Regions from separate parts of the Homo sapiens genome. Here region 1 is linked to region 2. The links are contacts of gene promoters, found by promoter capture Hi-C in human tissues and cell types (Jung and others, 2019). All regions are on one chromosome and are shown on one strand. The core of a region is centred on a gene start or on the middle of the fragment in contact, and the rest is flanking DNA. Distances in the headings are between cores, read along the strand shown.

Evidence for each region. Contacts are between HindIII fragments. The study calls those that stand out against the background at their distance.
Region 1: a contact is called between a fragment that was not itself captured here and the fragment with the promoter of UBXN7 in region 2, in 1 of the 25 tissues and cell types used here (pancreas).

Annotation. Positions count from the first base shown.
Region 1 is chr3:195,727,916-195,735,101 of GRCh38, reverse strand. MUC20 (mucin 20, cell surface associated) reads right to left here. Exons shown (of 4, transcript NM_001282506.2): 3 at 5,363-5,454; 4 at 1,551-1,952. The coding sequence ends at 1,884. Among named protein-coding and RNA genes, the nearest start is that of MUC20, 11 kb to the right of the region's middle. The HindIII fragment of the contact is 3,313 bases long and covers 3,931-7,186 here.
Region 2 is chr3:196,430,776-196,437,647 of GRCh38, reverse strand. UBXN7 (UBX domain protein 7) reads left to right here and starts at 5,221. Exons shown (of 11, transcript NM_015562.2): 1 at 5,221-5,321. The coding sequence starts at 5,249. It overlaps UBXN7-AS1 (UBXN7 antisense RNA 1), which reads right to left and starts at 6,263. Exons shown (of 2, transcript NR_046745.1): 1 at 6,207-6,263; 2 at 4,614-5,446. RefSeq lists enhancers at 4,904-4,983, 4,916-5,689, 6,064-6,113, 5,690-6,464 and silencers at 5,024-5,273, 5,294-5,353. The HindIII fragment of the contact is 10,299 bases long and covers 3,821-6,872 here.

The DNA.
Region 1 (7,186 bases), core at 4,338-6,837, 700 kb after region 2:
GGAAGATGCAGGTGGGGCAGGTCCAGAGGAAAAGATCAGAACTTCGATTTTAGAAATGTGGAGGCCAGGAGCAGTGCTCATTAACTGGAATCCCAGCACTTTGGGAGGCCGAGGTGGGTGGATCACTTGAGGTCAGGAGTTTGAGACCAGGCTGGCTGACACGGTGAAACTCCGTCTCTACTAAAAATTCAAAAAATTAGCCGAGCATGGTGGTGGCACCTGTAGTCCCAGATACTCAGGAGGCTGAGGCAGGAGAATCACGTGAACCCAAGAGGTGGAGCTTGCAGTGAGCTGAGATCACGCCACTGCACTCCAGCCTGGGTGACAGAGCCAGGCTCCTTTCCATCTCAAAAAGAAAAAAAAAAAGAAAGAAATGTTGAATGTGAGGTATGTATTTCATCAACATCCAAGTGGAGAGATTAAGAATTGAAATGAATACACAGTATACATTAATAATAATAGCTGTATATAAGGCTGGGCACAGTGGCTCATGTCTGTAATCCCAGCACTTTGCGAGTCTGAGGCAGGAGGACTGCTTGAGCTCAGAAGATCGAGACCAACCTGCTCAACATGGTAAAGCCCCTTTTTTACAAAACAAAGTACAAAAATTAGCCAGCTGTGGTCCCAGCTCCTCAGGAGGCTGAGGTGGGAGGATCACTGGAGCTGGGAGGTGGAGGCTGCAGTGAGCCATGGTCGCACCACTGCACTGCAGTTTGGGTGAGAGTGAGACCCTGTCTCAATTTTAAAAAATAAATCGTTGTATCTAAGAGGTGGGATTATAGAAAAGTTTTTCTTTCTCCTCTTCCCACTTCTTACTTTGCTTGGTCTTTGGAATATTTCAAAATTTTGAAATCATAAACAAGTTTTACTTTTATTTTAAATTTATTTATTTATGAGACAGAGTCTTGCCCTTTTGCCCAGGCTGGGGTGCAGTGGTAGGATCTTGGGTCACTGCAACCTCTGCCTCCCGGGTTCAAGTGATTCTCCCGTCTCAGCCTCCTGGGTAGCTGGGATTACAGGCACCTGCCACCACACCCAGCTAATTTTCGTGTTTTTAGTAGAGACGGGGTTTCACCATGTTGGCCAGGCTAGTCTCAAACTCCTGACCTCGTGATCCACCGGCCTCGGCCTCCCAAAGTGCTGGGATTACAGGCGTGAGCCACTGAGCCTGGCCAAGTTTTACTTTTATAATAAAAAGTAAACCATATTAATTTTTTAAAAAAATAATAGCATGTAAGTTATAACATATAAGAGGAATAATTGAGGCTTGTGTCCAGAACTTGAAATTTAAATTTAGGTCAATTCCACATTCTCTGCGATCCCACTGCAGGCCAGACACTCTGCTAGTTCAGGGGATACTGAGATGAACAAAGGTGGTCCCTGCCCTGCTGCAGCGGGCTGTTCGACAGGCTCCAGGCCCGTCTCAGTAAATGCTATCATCAAAGTCCAAACCAAGACCTGGGGGAGTAGAAGGAGGAGGTAGCAGTGAGACTATACACAATCCCTGTACTATAAAAATGGCGAAAGCATGCAGATCAATAGACAGCCTCTGGGCCACACTGAGTGAATTTTAATGCAGGATGGAAGCACACAGATGGGTGATCAGGTCTCTCTTTACTGAAACACAGAACATGTGCCAAGGTGAGTCCAAGGACACCTCTGGGAACAGGTGAAGCCCCTCCCCACACATACACTCCGGTGGATGTGAGCGAGGGTCCTGTTGCCACATCTGGGGTCAGGGGCTTGGACATGCTGCCCTTCATGGGAACCTTCTGGGTACCTCTCAGCACAGTAACGCAGCTGCAGTCTGTCGGTGGGGGCCCAGGCTAGGGGCAGCACCCTCTTTTGGCATACGGGACATGCCTGGCTGCAGCTGATGTCCGTTAGCCTCTCCTGACACGCAGTAAGGAGACCTGGAAGTGAGGCGCGTGGGCGTGGAGTTCCCGGTGGAGCTGGAGAGCAAAAGAGCCAGCTGTCCTTTCAGCCCATCTGGCCCATGAGCTCGCCAGAGGCAGAGGACAGGAAGGGACACTGGGGCAGAGTGCATGCGGAGGACGGCAACCCTTCCTGGGCCTCCTACATGCTGGACACAGGCTGGTGCCTCACACACATTATGTCATCTAAACCTCACAGCAACCTTATAAAGCAGGTGTTAGGATCCTCATTTTATAAGGGATGAAAGTCGCATAGAATAACTTATCCAAGATCACACAGTTGGGAACTAGAATTCACACCCAGATCTAGCTGGTTCCTAAGCTCATTGTCTAATCCCCGAGCCCAAACTGTTGGGCTGTCCCCGGACGAGAACTGATGCCCAACCCCATGTGGCCTGGTGCCTGCGCCTCAGCTGCTTGACCTGCTCCTGATCTCGCGGTTTCTTTCCGATTCCTGAAATCATTTCTGGTTTGGGGGCTTAGACCTGAGATTCAAAACTGGCTTCCCGGCCGGGTGCGGTGGCTCACGCCAATAATCCCAGTGCTTTGGGAAGCAGAGGCAGGTGGGTCACCTGAGGTCAGGAGTTCGAGACCAGCCTGACCAACATGGAGAAACCCCATCTCTACTAAAAATACAAAAATTAGCCAGGAGTGGTAGTGTGCACCTGTAATCCCAGCTACTAGGGAGGTTGAGGCAGGAGAATTGCTTGAATCCGGGAGGTGGAGGTTGCAGTGAGCCGAGATCGTGCCATTGCACTCCAGCCTGGACGACAGAGCGAGAATCTGTCTCAAGAAAAATAAAAGAAAAGAAAAGAAAAAGAGAAAGAAAAAGAAAAAGAAAAAGAAAACTGGCTTCCCAGCCGGACGCAATGACTCAACGCCTGTAATCCCAGCACTTTGGGAGGCTGAGGTGGGTGGATCATGAGGTCAAGAGTTCAAGACTAGCCTGGCCAAGATGCTGAAACCTGAAACTCCATCTCTACTAAAAATACAAAAATTAGCCAGGTATGGTGGTGCGGGCCTGTAATCCCAGCTACTCAGAAGGTTGAGGCAGGAGAATGGCTTGAACCTGGGAGGCGGAGGTTGTGGTGAGCCAAGATCGCACCACTGCACTCCAGCTTGGATGACAGAGTGAGACTCAGTCTCAGAAAACAAAACAAAACAAAACAAAACAAAACAAAACAAAACAAAAGCAATTGGCTTCCCTCTCCCACAAGGATTCACACTCGCTACTTTGATTATCACATGCCGGGGGCATTTGTCACTTATTTGGCCATCGGGTGTCGAGCCCCCGTGCCATGTTTAGGGAACTCCTCACAGTGGGAGTCACGATTGGCCTCACTGCTGCTAAGAGAACTCCAAGGACACAGACATCCCTTCTTCCCGTCCCCTGGCACCTGGCTGTGGGCTCATGGGAGTACAAGGGCTAAGCTCAGCCTATCAAATGTTCCTACTCAGGACTTTGGCTCTGGAGCAAAAAGTCCAGTGAGACAAAAAGGCAGCGAGAACCTATGTGAATGTGTGTGCAGGCCACGTGATGCCCCTTGGCTGTGGCAGCATCCAATAGTGACTGACCAGCAAGAGGGACAGTGTCCCAGCCAGCCTGATCCCACTGTCTGGACCTCAGAGCTCCTGGGGGCCCTCCTGCCTATTTTCCAAGCCTGCTGTCCTGGCATTGCTTTGATTCTATGCACTCTGGGACGCTGCCAACAAATCCCCCTTTTACTTACGACAGACAGAGGTTTTCTTTCGCCTGCAACAAAGGATCCCACTCTCCACGGACATATCTTGCTTCCCTCTGCTAAGGGCAATCATTCCACCTGTCCAGCCTGGCTATGAACTCTACACCTGGCATAAGACCCCCAGCCAGCATCTCTGCCAGGTTTACCCTTGCAAGGGATGACAGGAAGCCTGAGCCACTTTTCAGCAGTGTGGCACCCATTGACTGTGAGAGGTGCTGAATGCAAGCTTCAGGTATTAGCAAGGGCACTGTCCCATTGACTGTGAGAGGTGCTGAATGCAAGCTTCAGGTATTAGCAAGGGCACTGTCAAAGAGGCAATCCACATTAGACTGTGCACTGGGCCTGTTTTCACGGTTACATCTGTGAGCAGAGCTTAGACACTTCCCATCATGCCCCATCTGCTACTTTGTACCACACATTAGGAGAACAACCCACCCCTCAGTGAGGCCAGGCCCGTGACATCTGCACTGAGCTGACCCAGTCTAACCTCCAACAAGCCACACCATCCCCATCCTCAAAACCCTGACCCCGGAACTTTACCATTGGAAGTTCTATCCAGTGGGTTTTAGGAGAATTTTCCCAACTTGTACAAATACATCCCAATCATGGTCCTCATCTAGAGTATACATCTCTGCGGTTTTTTCTGCCTAGCCTCCCTATTTTCTTGGGGCTCATCCTTCCTCTATGGGATCCTGACTGGGTTGTCAGTCATGGTGACCCTTGCAGGCCATGGAGACCTGCACTTCCCCAGATGACATGAAAATTTGGGGAGAGGGGGCCGGGTGCGGTGGCTCATGTCTGTAATCCCAGCACTTTGGGAGGCCAAGACGGGTGGATCACGAGGTCAGGAGATTGAGACTATTCTGGCTAACACGGTGAAACCCCGTCTCTACTAAAAAAAAAAACATAAAAATTAGTTGGGCGTGGTGGCGGGCGCCTGTAGTCCCAGCTACTTGGGAGGCTGAGGCAGGAGAATGGCGTGAACCCAGGAGGCGGAGCTTGCAGTGAGCTGAGATCGCACCACTGCACTCCAGCCTGGGCGACAGAGCGAGACTTCGTCTCAAAAAACAAAAAGAAAGAAAGAAAAAGAAAAAAGAAAAGAAAATGTGGGGAGATGGAAGTCCCTTGTGAATCTATGGCTAACAAGGCTGCCTTTTCATACACATGAAGAAAGACTCTGAAGAATGAAGGGAGTAAAGCTAAGACAGGGAAAGAAAGAGAAAGTCCCTGTGATGGCGCTGGAGCTGCTGGATCCAGCCGTACTGAAGCTGAAGAGACACTTGTAGGTTTCTCAGACCTTGCCTTTTTTTTTTTTTTTTTTTTTTTGCATAAACTGCCCTGACTTGGGTTTCTGCCACTTGCAACCAAGAGTCCGACCTACCCTCCCATCAGTATCACTGACCTTTGCCTCAGAGGCCAGAAGGCCAAGCTTCCAAGGACCAGAAGAAACTGGGGGCTCTAGGAGTCACATGTTTACATTGCAGAGAAGGAAATGAAGAACTCGGAGAAGGCAGGCAGAAGCAAAGCCAGGCAGAGATCCTCAGATTCAGCTCCCAATTCTCCGTAAGAAACGAGACTCCCTTCCAAGCGCGGTAGCTGCTCTTCTGTGTCCTGCGGGTCTTCCCTGCAGCCCCTGCGAACCTCGCCCCTTCCTCTACTCCCCTGGCCCGGAAAGTGCCCACTCACCTGCTGCATCAGCCTTTCTGCCACTCTGGGGTCAGTGAGGTCTTCCGGGGAAGCCACACTCAGCCGCAGGAGGAGGAAACCTCCATTTTCACCTGCAAATGGAGAACAGTAAGATGAAAATCAGGGCTGGGCGCAGTGGCTCACACCTGTCATCCCAGCACTTTGGGAGGCAGAGGCAGGTGGATCACCTGAGATCGGGAGTTTGAGACCAGCCTGACCAACATGGAGAAATCCCGTCTTTACTAAAAACACAAAATGAGCCGGGCATGGTGGTGCGTGCCTGTAATCCCAGCTACTCAGGAGGCTGAGGCAGGAGAATCGCCTGAACCTGGGAGGCGGAGGTTGTGGTGATCTGAGATCGCAGCACTACACTCCAACCTGGGCAACAAGAGCGAAACTGTCTCAAAAAAAAAAAAAAAAAAAAAGAGGAGGATGAAATAGTCACATATATTTGCTTCCGTATGTACATTTCATGTGCAGAAAATTACACACAAGAGACAATCTCACGGGTTACATGTGTGGAGAGAACTGGGTGGGGGCACAGCCAGGGGAGAAAGGCATTTTATGGTGAACCTTTTCGTACCTTTCCATTTCAAATCATATGAATGTCTTATCTAATCAACAAATAATAAAGTATTTTTCTTTCCAGGGAAAAGAAGGAGCGATCAGACTGTCACTGTGTCTCTGTAGAAAGGAAAGACATGAGACTCCATTTTGAAAAAGACCTGTACTTTAAACAAGCTTTGCTGAGATGTTGTTAATTTGTAACTTTGCCCCAACCTTGAGCTCATAAAAACATGTGTTGTATAAAATCAAGGTTTAAGGGATCTAGGGCTGTGCAGGACGTGCCTTGTTAACAAAATGTTTACAAGCAGTATACTTGGTAGAAGTCATCGCCATTCTCTAGTCTCAATAAACCAGGGGCACAATGCACTGTGGAAAGCCGCAGGGACCTCTGCCCTTGAAAGCAGGTTATTGTCCAAGCTTTCTCCCCATGTATAGTCTGAAATATGGCCTTGTGGGATGACAAAGACCTGACCGTCCCCCAGGCTGACACCCGTAAAGGGTCTGTGCTGAGGTGGATTAGTAAAAGAGGATCTCCTCTTGCAGTTGAGATAGAGGAAGGCCACTGTCTCCTGCCTGCCCCTGGGAACTGAATGTCTCAGTATAAAACCCGATTGTACATTTGTTCAATTCTGAGACAGGAGAAAAACCACCCTGTGGCGGGAGGTGAGACATGTTTGCAGCAATGCTGCTTTATTATTCTTTACTCTGCTGAGATGTTTGGGTGGAGAGAAACATAAATCTGGCCTACGTGCACATCCAGGCATAGTATCTTCCCTTGAACTTAATTATGACACAGATTCTTTTGCTCACATGTTTCTTGCTGACCTTCTCCTTATTATCACCCTGCTCTCCTACTACATTCCTTTTTGCTAAAATAATGAAAATAATAATCAATAAAAACTGAGAAAACTCAGAGACTGGTGCCGGTGCAGGTCCTTGGTATGCTGAGCGACGGTCCCCTGGGCCCACTGTTGTTTCTCTATACTTTGTCTCTGTGCCTTATTTCTTTTCTCAGTCTCTCATCCCACCCGACTAGAAATACCCACAGGTGTGGAGGGGCAGGCCACCCCTTCACTTTCCAGAGCAGTTTAGCTACCATCTTTAACCCTGTCAGATGGGGTCGTGTTACCCACCTCCTAAGGCTGTTTTGAAGGTTAAATAGAGGAGATAACATATGCAAAGCTGGTGGCACACTGCCTGGCATCATAACATATGCAAAGCTGGTGGCACACTGCCTGGCATCAGATAACATATGCA
Region 2 (6,872 bases), core at 3,972-6,471:
CTGTGTCTGATCAAATGAATCAAATAATTTCTCTTATTTAATTTGTTTTACTATGGTGAATTACATTGACAGAGGTGTTTTTTTTTTTTTTTTCTGGAGTTTCTGGTGTCCAGGCTGGAGTGTGCAGGGTGCAATTATAGCTCATTCAGCTTCAAACTCCTAGACAATTGGGCTCCAGTGGTCCTCCTACCTCAGCCTCCTAGGTAGCTGGGATTACAGGGGCGAGCAACTGTGCCATTTGTAAGAGCTTTTTACTGTAAAATTATGCTTGCATTCCTGAAGTAAACCCAATAAAAAAAATATGTACATGTATGTGTGAATATGTGGATTTCTAAATTCTGATTTAATTTAAGATATCTGTTTCAGTAGCCATGAGTGAGGATGAATTCTCATTTATTATTTTGTTTGATTTGATTTCAAGGTTATGCTACCCTTATAGAATGAGCTGTTTGTTCCCATTGTTCTTTATCTGGAAGCATTTGTATAAGTTTGGGATAATCTGTTTCTTAACTTTTTTGGTAGCAATCTCCTGTAAAATCACTGGGGTGTGGTCATTTGTGTGGCAGATTTCATTTTGTTAATGGTCATAAGTCTATGCATAGTTGAGTTCCATTTTGTTAATTATTTCTTCTAGGAAACTGTCATTTATCTATTTCCTAATTCATCAGCATAAAATTATTCATAATATTCTCTTATTTTTCAAGCCACGGCTATGTCTGCTATGTCTTTTTTTCATAATATTGTTTGTGTCTTTCTCTTTGTTCTTAATCTGTCAAAGGTTTTATTATTATTTATTTTTTTATTTTTTGAGATGGAGTCTCACTCTGTCACCCAGGCGGGAGTGCAATGGCACAATCTCGGCTCACTGCAACCTCTGTCTCCTGGGTTCAAGTGATTCTACTGTCTCAGCCTCCCAAGTAGCTGGGATTACAGGCGCCCGCCACCACGTCCAGCTAATTTTTGTATTTTTAGTAGAGACGGGGTTTCACCATGTTGGCCAGGCTGGTCTGGAACTCCTGACCTCAGGTGATCCACCCACCTCGGCCTCCCAAAGTGCTGGGCCTACAGGTGTGAGCCACCACACCTGGCCTGTCAAAGGTTTTACATATTGTTATTTCAGAGAACCAGCTTTTGGTTTTATGAATCCTCTCTTCTGTATTTTGTATTCTATTTTGTCAATTTCTGCTCTTTAGCATTTTTTCTTCACATTTTTCCTTGTCTGCTGAGTTGTTGTTCCTTTATTAACTTCTTGATGAAATGCTGAGCTACTTATTTTCCAGTCTTCTTCTCTAATATAACCAGTTAAGCTTATATATTCTCCTTTAGCTTCTGTTAAAACTCCATCAGTTTCGGGCCAGGCTCTGTGGCTCACCCTGTAATCCCAGCACTTTGGGAGGCTGAGACAGGTGGATCACTTGATGTCAGGAGTTCAAGACCAGCCTGACCAACATGGTGAAACCTTGTCTCTACTAAAAATACAAAAATTAGCTGGGCATGGTGGCCTGCTCCTGTAATCCCAGCTACTTGGGAGGCTGAGGCAGGAGAATCGCTTGAACCCAGGAGGCAGAGGCTGCAGTGAGCCAAGATCCTGCCACTGCACTCCAGCCTGGGCGACAGAGAGAGACCCTGTCTCAAAAAACAAAACAAGATGAAACAAAAAAGACCCAAACAAACCAAAAAGCTCCTCAAGTTTTGGAATGTATTTCCATGACCATTCCATTTTACATTTGTGTCCATCAATTTCCTCTTTTCCATCCTGCTCTCTGCCCCGGGGCTGCCTGTGGGAACTACAAGGGGCTTCTTGCTGTGCCCTCTGTCTTCCATTTGGGTTCAGCCATTGGGGATTCCTGGCAGGAGACAGAAGAGGAGATCGAGGTCAGGGTATCTATGTCCCTGAGCTCCTCTCTGAGATTGCCTCAAGCTGCTTATTTATGTCCCTTGACAGAAGGTCATTGCTTCTTGCATGGTGGTTTGCTCTGCAAAAAAATCTCACTTGGGATTTCTCTAACTTCTCTCTGTTCTCATCTCTTTGGACGTATGGGTTGTGACAGTTCTACTGTTACTAGTATGAGATCCTCCACTGTTCCTTGTGATTTCCACATATCTTACCCAGGCTGGAGTGCAGTGGTGTCATCATGGCTCACTGCAGCCTCGACCACCTGGGCCCAAGTGATCCTCCCGCCTCAGCCTCCAGAGTAGGTGGGACTACAAGCTTGCACCACCGCACCTGGCTAATTAAACTTTTTTTTTCTTTTTTCAGAGATAGGGTCTCCCTATGTTGCCTAGGCTGGTCTCAAGCTCCTGGGCTCAAGTGATCCTCCTGTCTTGGCCTCCCAAAGTGCTGGGATTACAGGCATGAGCCACGACACCCATCCTTCATATTCATATTCTTTTTTTTTTTTTTTTTTTTTTTTTTTGAGACGGAGTCTCACTCTGTTGCCCAGGCTGGAGTGCAGTAGCTCATTCTTGGCTCACTGCAAACTTCACCTCCCGGGCTCAAGCGATTCTCCTGCTTCAGCCACACGAGTAGCTGGGATTACAGGCACGCACCATCACGCCCAGCTAATTTTGTATTTTTAGTAAAGATGGTGTTTCACCATGTTGGTCAGGCGGGTTTGGAGCTCCTGACCTCAGGTGATCCCCAGCCTCGGCCTCCCAAAGTGCTGGGATTACAGGTGTGAGCCACCGCAACTGGTCAGTCCTTCATATTCTTTAATAATCCAAAAAAGCTTTTCAAGGTTGTATTATTCATTACTTCTTTATTTATTTTTCCCAGTTCCCTGGTTATCCATGGAAACTGTCTCATTTTCTTCCCTTCTTTCCCCCCCTCCCCCCGACCATGGAATCTTTTTGGCCACCTGTCTAATTTTCTTTTATCTTATTTTTTAATTTCTAAAAAAATGCCTTCTGGAGTTGTGGATGCCACAGACTTTATCACCTTTTCCTGCACTGTTAATCAAAATCATATCATTAAATCTGAATTATAAGATTTTGGAAATAAACCTGATAAACCTGCAGAGCTCATTACTGGCCTCTCCATCTGATGGAGGTACAGTAATCACTGTGTTTAGTTTTTGTAGTTAATGGTGTTATACCATTTTACGTGGAGCTTGATTTTGCATGGCTGGCTAGTGACTCAGCCTTTAGGATGAAGGGAGACAGAGGTAACACTTTCTTGATTTGGCTTTCTTCCCTTGCCTGTTTTTGCACCTCTGCATCAAATGTGAAGGAATCAGCTGCCGAAATTTATGACTGATCCCTGCCCTTCCTCAGCCCATCTAGAGAACTGCAGCAACCTGGAAGGCAGTGCCAGGACCAATCTGTCATTTAACTTAAAATACATTTTTTTTTTTGAGACGGAGTCTTGCTCTGTCACCCAGGCTGGAGCACAGTGGCATGATCTCGGCTCACTGCAACCTCTGCCTCCCGGGTTCAAGTGATTCTCCTGCCTCAGCCTCCCAAGTAGCTGGGATTACAGGTGCCCGCGCCACCACAGCAGCTAATTTTTGTATTTTTAGTAGAGATGGGGTTTCGCCATGTTGACCAGGCTGGTCTGGAACTCCTGACCTCGGGCGATCCGCCCGCCTCGGCCTCCCAAAGTGCTGGGATTACTGGAGTCTGCTTTCTTTTACATCAATCATATCTTCTTGAAACTACAGCCCGACTGGGTGTGGTGGCTCACGCCTGTAATCCCAACACTTTGGGAGGCCGAGGCGGGTGGATCACTTGAGGTCAGTAGTTTGAGACTAGCCTGCTCAACATGGTGAAACCTCGTCTCTATTAAAAATACAAAAATTAGCCAGGCGTGGTGGCGTGTGCCTGTAATCCCAGCTACTTGGGAGGCTGAGGCAGGAGAATCGCTTGAACCCGGGAGGCGGAGCTTTCAGTAAACTGAGATTGCACCACTGCACTCCAGCCTGGGCGACAGAGCGAGACTCCCTGTCAAACAAAACAAAACAAAAAACTATACCCCTTGATTTGACATGGCTCTTTCTTAATTCTCCCCAATAGCATGTTTACTCTTAGGATGTGTCAATTCTTCAGACAGCTCATCCCATCTTTTATTGGGCCATTTTCCTATGAAGATGCAAAATATGTGGGTGGAGGTTGGAAGGTGGGAGGCTAAAACAAACGGAATCACTTGGAATCTCTTTTAACTTTATGGGCAAGGTGGGGGATTATTGGATTTGAGCGCACCCCACTCATGTAACTGTTTTGCAAAATACTTAAAATTATTCAAGGAACACACGAATATCTTTTTTTTTTTTTTTTTTTTGAGATGGATTCTTGATATATTTCCCAGTCTGGTCTCGAACTCCTTGCCTCAAGCGATTCTCCCACCTCGGCCTTCCAAAGTGCTGGGATTACAGTCATGAGCCACCGCGCCCGGCCAATAATGTTTGTTTAAAAATAAAAAGATAAATAAGAAACTCGAAGTAAGGTCCGCTTTGACCATCGTCCCGATCGTTCTCTTCTCTGGAGGTAACCGTTACCAGCGTTTTGAGCACACTTTTCCAGTCTCCTTTCTATATGTTTTCTTTCCTCTACTGCATATACAGAGTTTCTTTTTATACAAATGACGCCTCTTGGGGTCTCATTAAGACCCTAACGGGAGACGTGATGGCCAATTTATTTAAGGAAAGCAGACTAAACAATCGTTTATGAAAACCTACTGGGTGGCAACCCCGCGCTAAGTGCTTTCTTTGGCATGAAGGGTTCTGGTATTTCACTCGTCGCAATCGGTTAGCTAAGCCATTAGTTTAGAGGCTGGGGGGCGAGTACGGGGAGAGTCGCTTCAAAGCGAGGAGGTAGGGTTTGCATTTTGATGGGACCTGCAGGAAACCTAATAGAGTGCGGTACAACCGCAAAACAGAAAAATGCTGTCATCGGCAGTTGGCTCTGTCAATAAAGCTTGCGAAGCTGAAATGCGAAGAACTATCTGCCGAGACCGAAGCTTCCTTCGGAATCTAGGAATCGACACCGCGCCTGCGAGGCTAGCCTTGGAGCCCGGAGAGGAAGGCACCAGCAATGGCAAAAAGGATGCACTGAGCAGGCAGCAACCGAGCAGCCAACCCGAGAGCTGGGAGCGCGCGGGCCCGGTCGGAAAATGCGCCTGCGCAGACCGCTGGGGACGGGAGGGGCGGGGCTCGAGGGGCGGTCAATGCGCCTGCGCACACCGCACGGCGAAGTGGGGGAGGGCAGTCCGTGTGTGTCTGTGTTGTTGTTCGGCGGCGGCGGCGGCGGTAAGATGGCTGCCCACGGGGGCTCCGCGGCGTCCTCGGCGCTGAAGGGGTTAATTCAACAGTTCACCACCATTACCGGTAAGAGACGCGGTTACCGGAAGGTGGAGAGTGGGGTCCGGAGCGGGCAGCGGGTCTGCCCCGGGCTTCCCCTTACCTTCAGGCATTCCTCCTTCGGGCTTTACCCACAGCTGCCGTCCTCCCTCCTGAGGAAGAGGCGACGACGGCGTCGGGGTCTCCGGGTTCAGGCGGGAGACAGCCCCCCCCCGCTCCCGATACCCTCGTTCTCTGTCTCCTAGTAGCGTGGAGGGAGATCCCCCAACCCCCCGCCAGCCCAGACCTGGGAATGGGCCGAGTCCGTCCGCCCCCGCCGGCCCGGGGACCCGGGGGCGGGAGGAGTAGGGGGCCGCACCCGGGCCACCGCCCTCCTCCTCCTCCTTCATCATCTTCCCTTCTCTGTGCAGCCCTGCGGTGCGGTGCATCTCCTCACCTCCTTTTTTCCTTTCTTCCCCGGCCAGGTCATTCTGCCCCGGTCCCCGGCCTGCCCTTCCCCTTTCTGGGCCCCTCGGAGCCATCGCCGTGGCCCTGGCGGGTTCGGGCCCTCCCGCCTTCACGGCAAGGCCGGTGGGTTCGGCCGTGCCTTTACACTTCACGGGGGACAGGCCGCCAGAAGCGGGGGGTGCTGAGGAGGACCTCAGGGACTGAGGCTTTGAGGGAAGAATGAGGGGGAACCCCCAAGCTGAATAGGGGAGGCCTGGAAGAATCCAGGGTGGCGTTTCCCACCTCCCCATAATAAAATCATAAAGACGGAGACGATGGCGCCGGGGCCTCCTGCTGATAAGATAGGGATGGCGGCAGAAACTTCTTTGAGAGAAAATCTGTTTCTGGGTGTCGGTATCCCCGAAACCCTAGGCCTAGGTTCTCTCCCTTTGGACCCCTGCGAAGGACACACGCAGATCCTCTTACCGCCTGGAGGAAAGGCCCTAAAGCCATTCTATGAATTCTCTCTGTCTTGTTTCTCTCTGATGGTGCTGAACTTTTCTTGCATGAGTTATTAGAGGGCGGAGCAAATGATGAAGTTCTCTGTGGAGTGATTTGAGAGAAGAGTACTCCAATGTGCCTGAGTGTAATTTTGCCGTTCTAGTTTGTCGTTTTGGAAGGAGGTCAGAATGTTAGTTCCCTCTCAACGGATCTATACTTTATCTCGTAATTTGTTAGATGCGGAGAATGTTTCCACTGTTAATGTTCCTAGAGTTTAACGTGCAATATCTGGTTAAGTAAAATTTTATATTGTTTTAACTACTACAGGTTGTATACTAGTTACCGTTTTATATTAAAGCAAGTTTTATTTTTTTGCTTTGCAATGATAACGAGATATTTGACGCATTGTTATCTAGCTTGTGGGCATGGAACATCAGGTCAAAGTAAAGTAAAATTTGCAATAAAATTGGGGTGAGGAGTTGCATGATAACTTCTCTTAATATTTTTGAACTTTGTGATTGGATTATTGAAGATATAAAGGATTGGATTATTATATTAAATATGTAAAGGATTTCCTAATGTCTGACAAATCATTGCTATGGAGAAGATTATTGTGTATATAAGTTAGTGTTGCTGCATTATGCTTATATA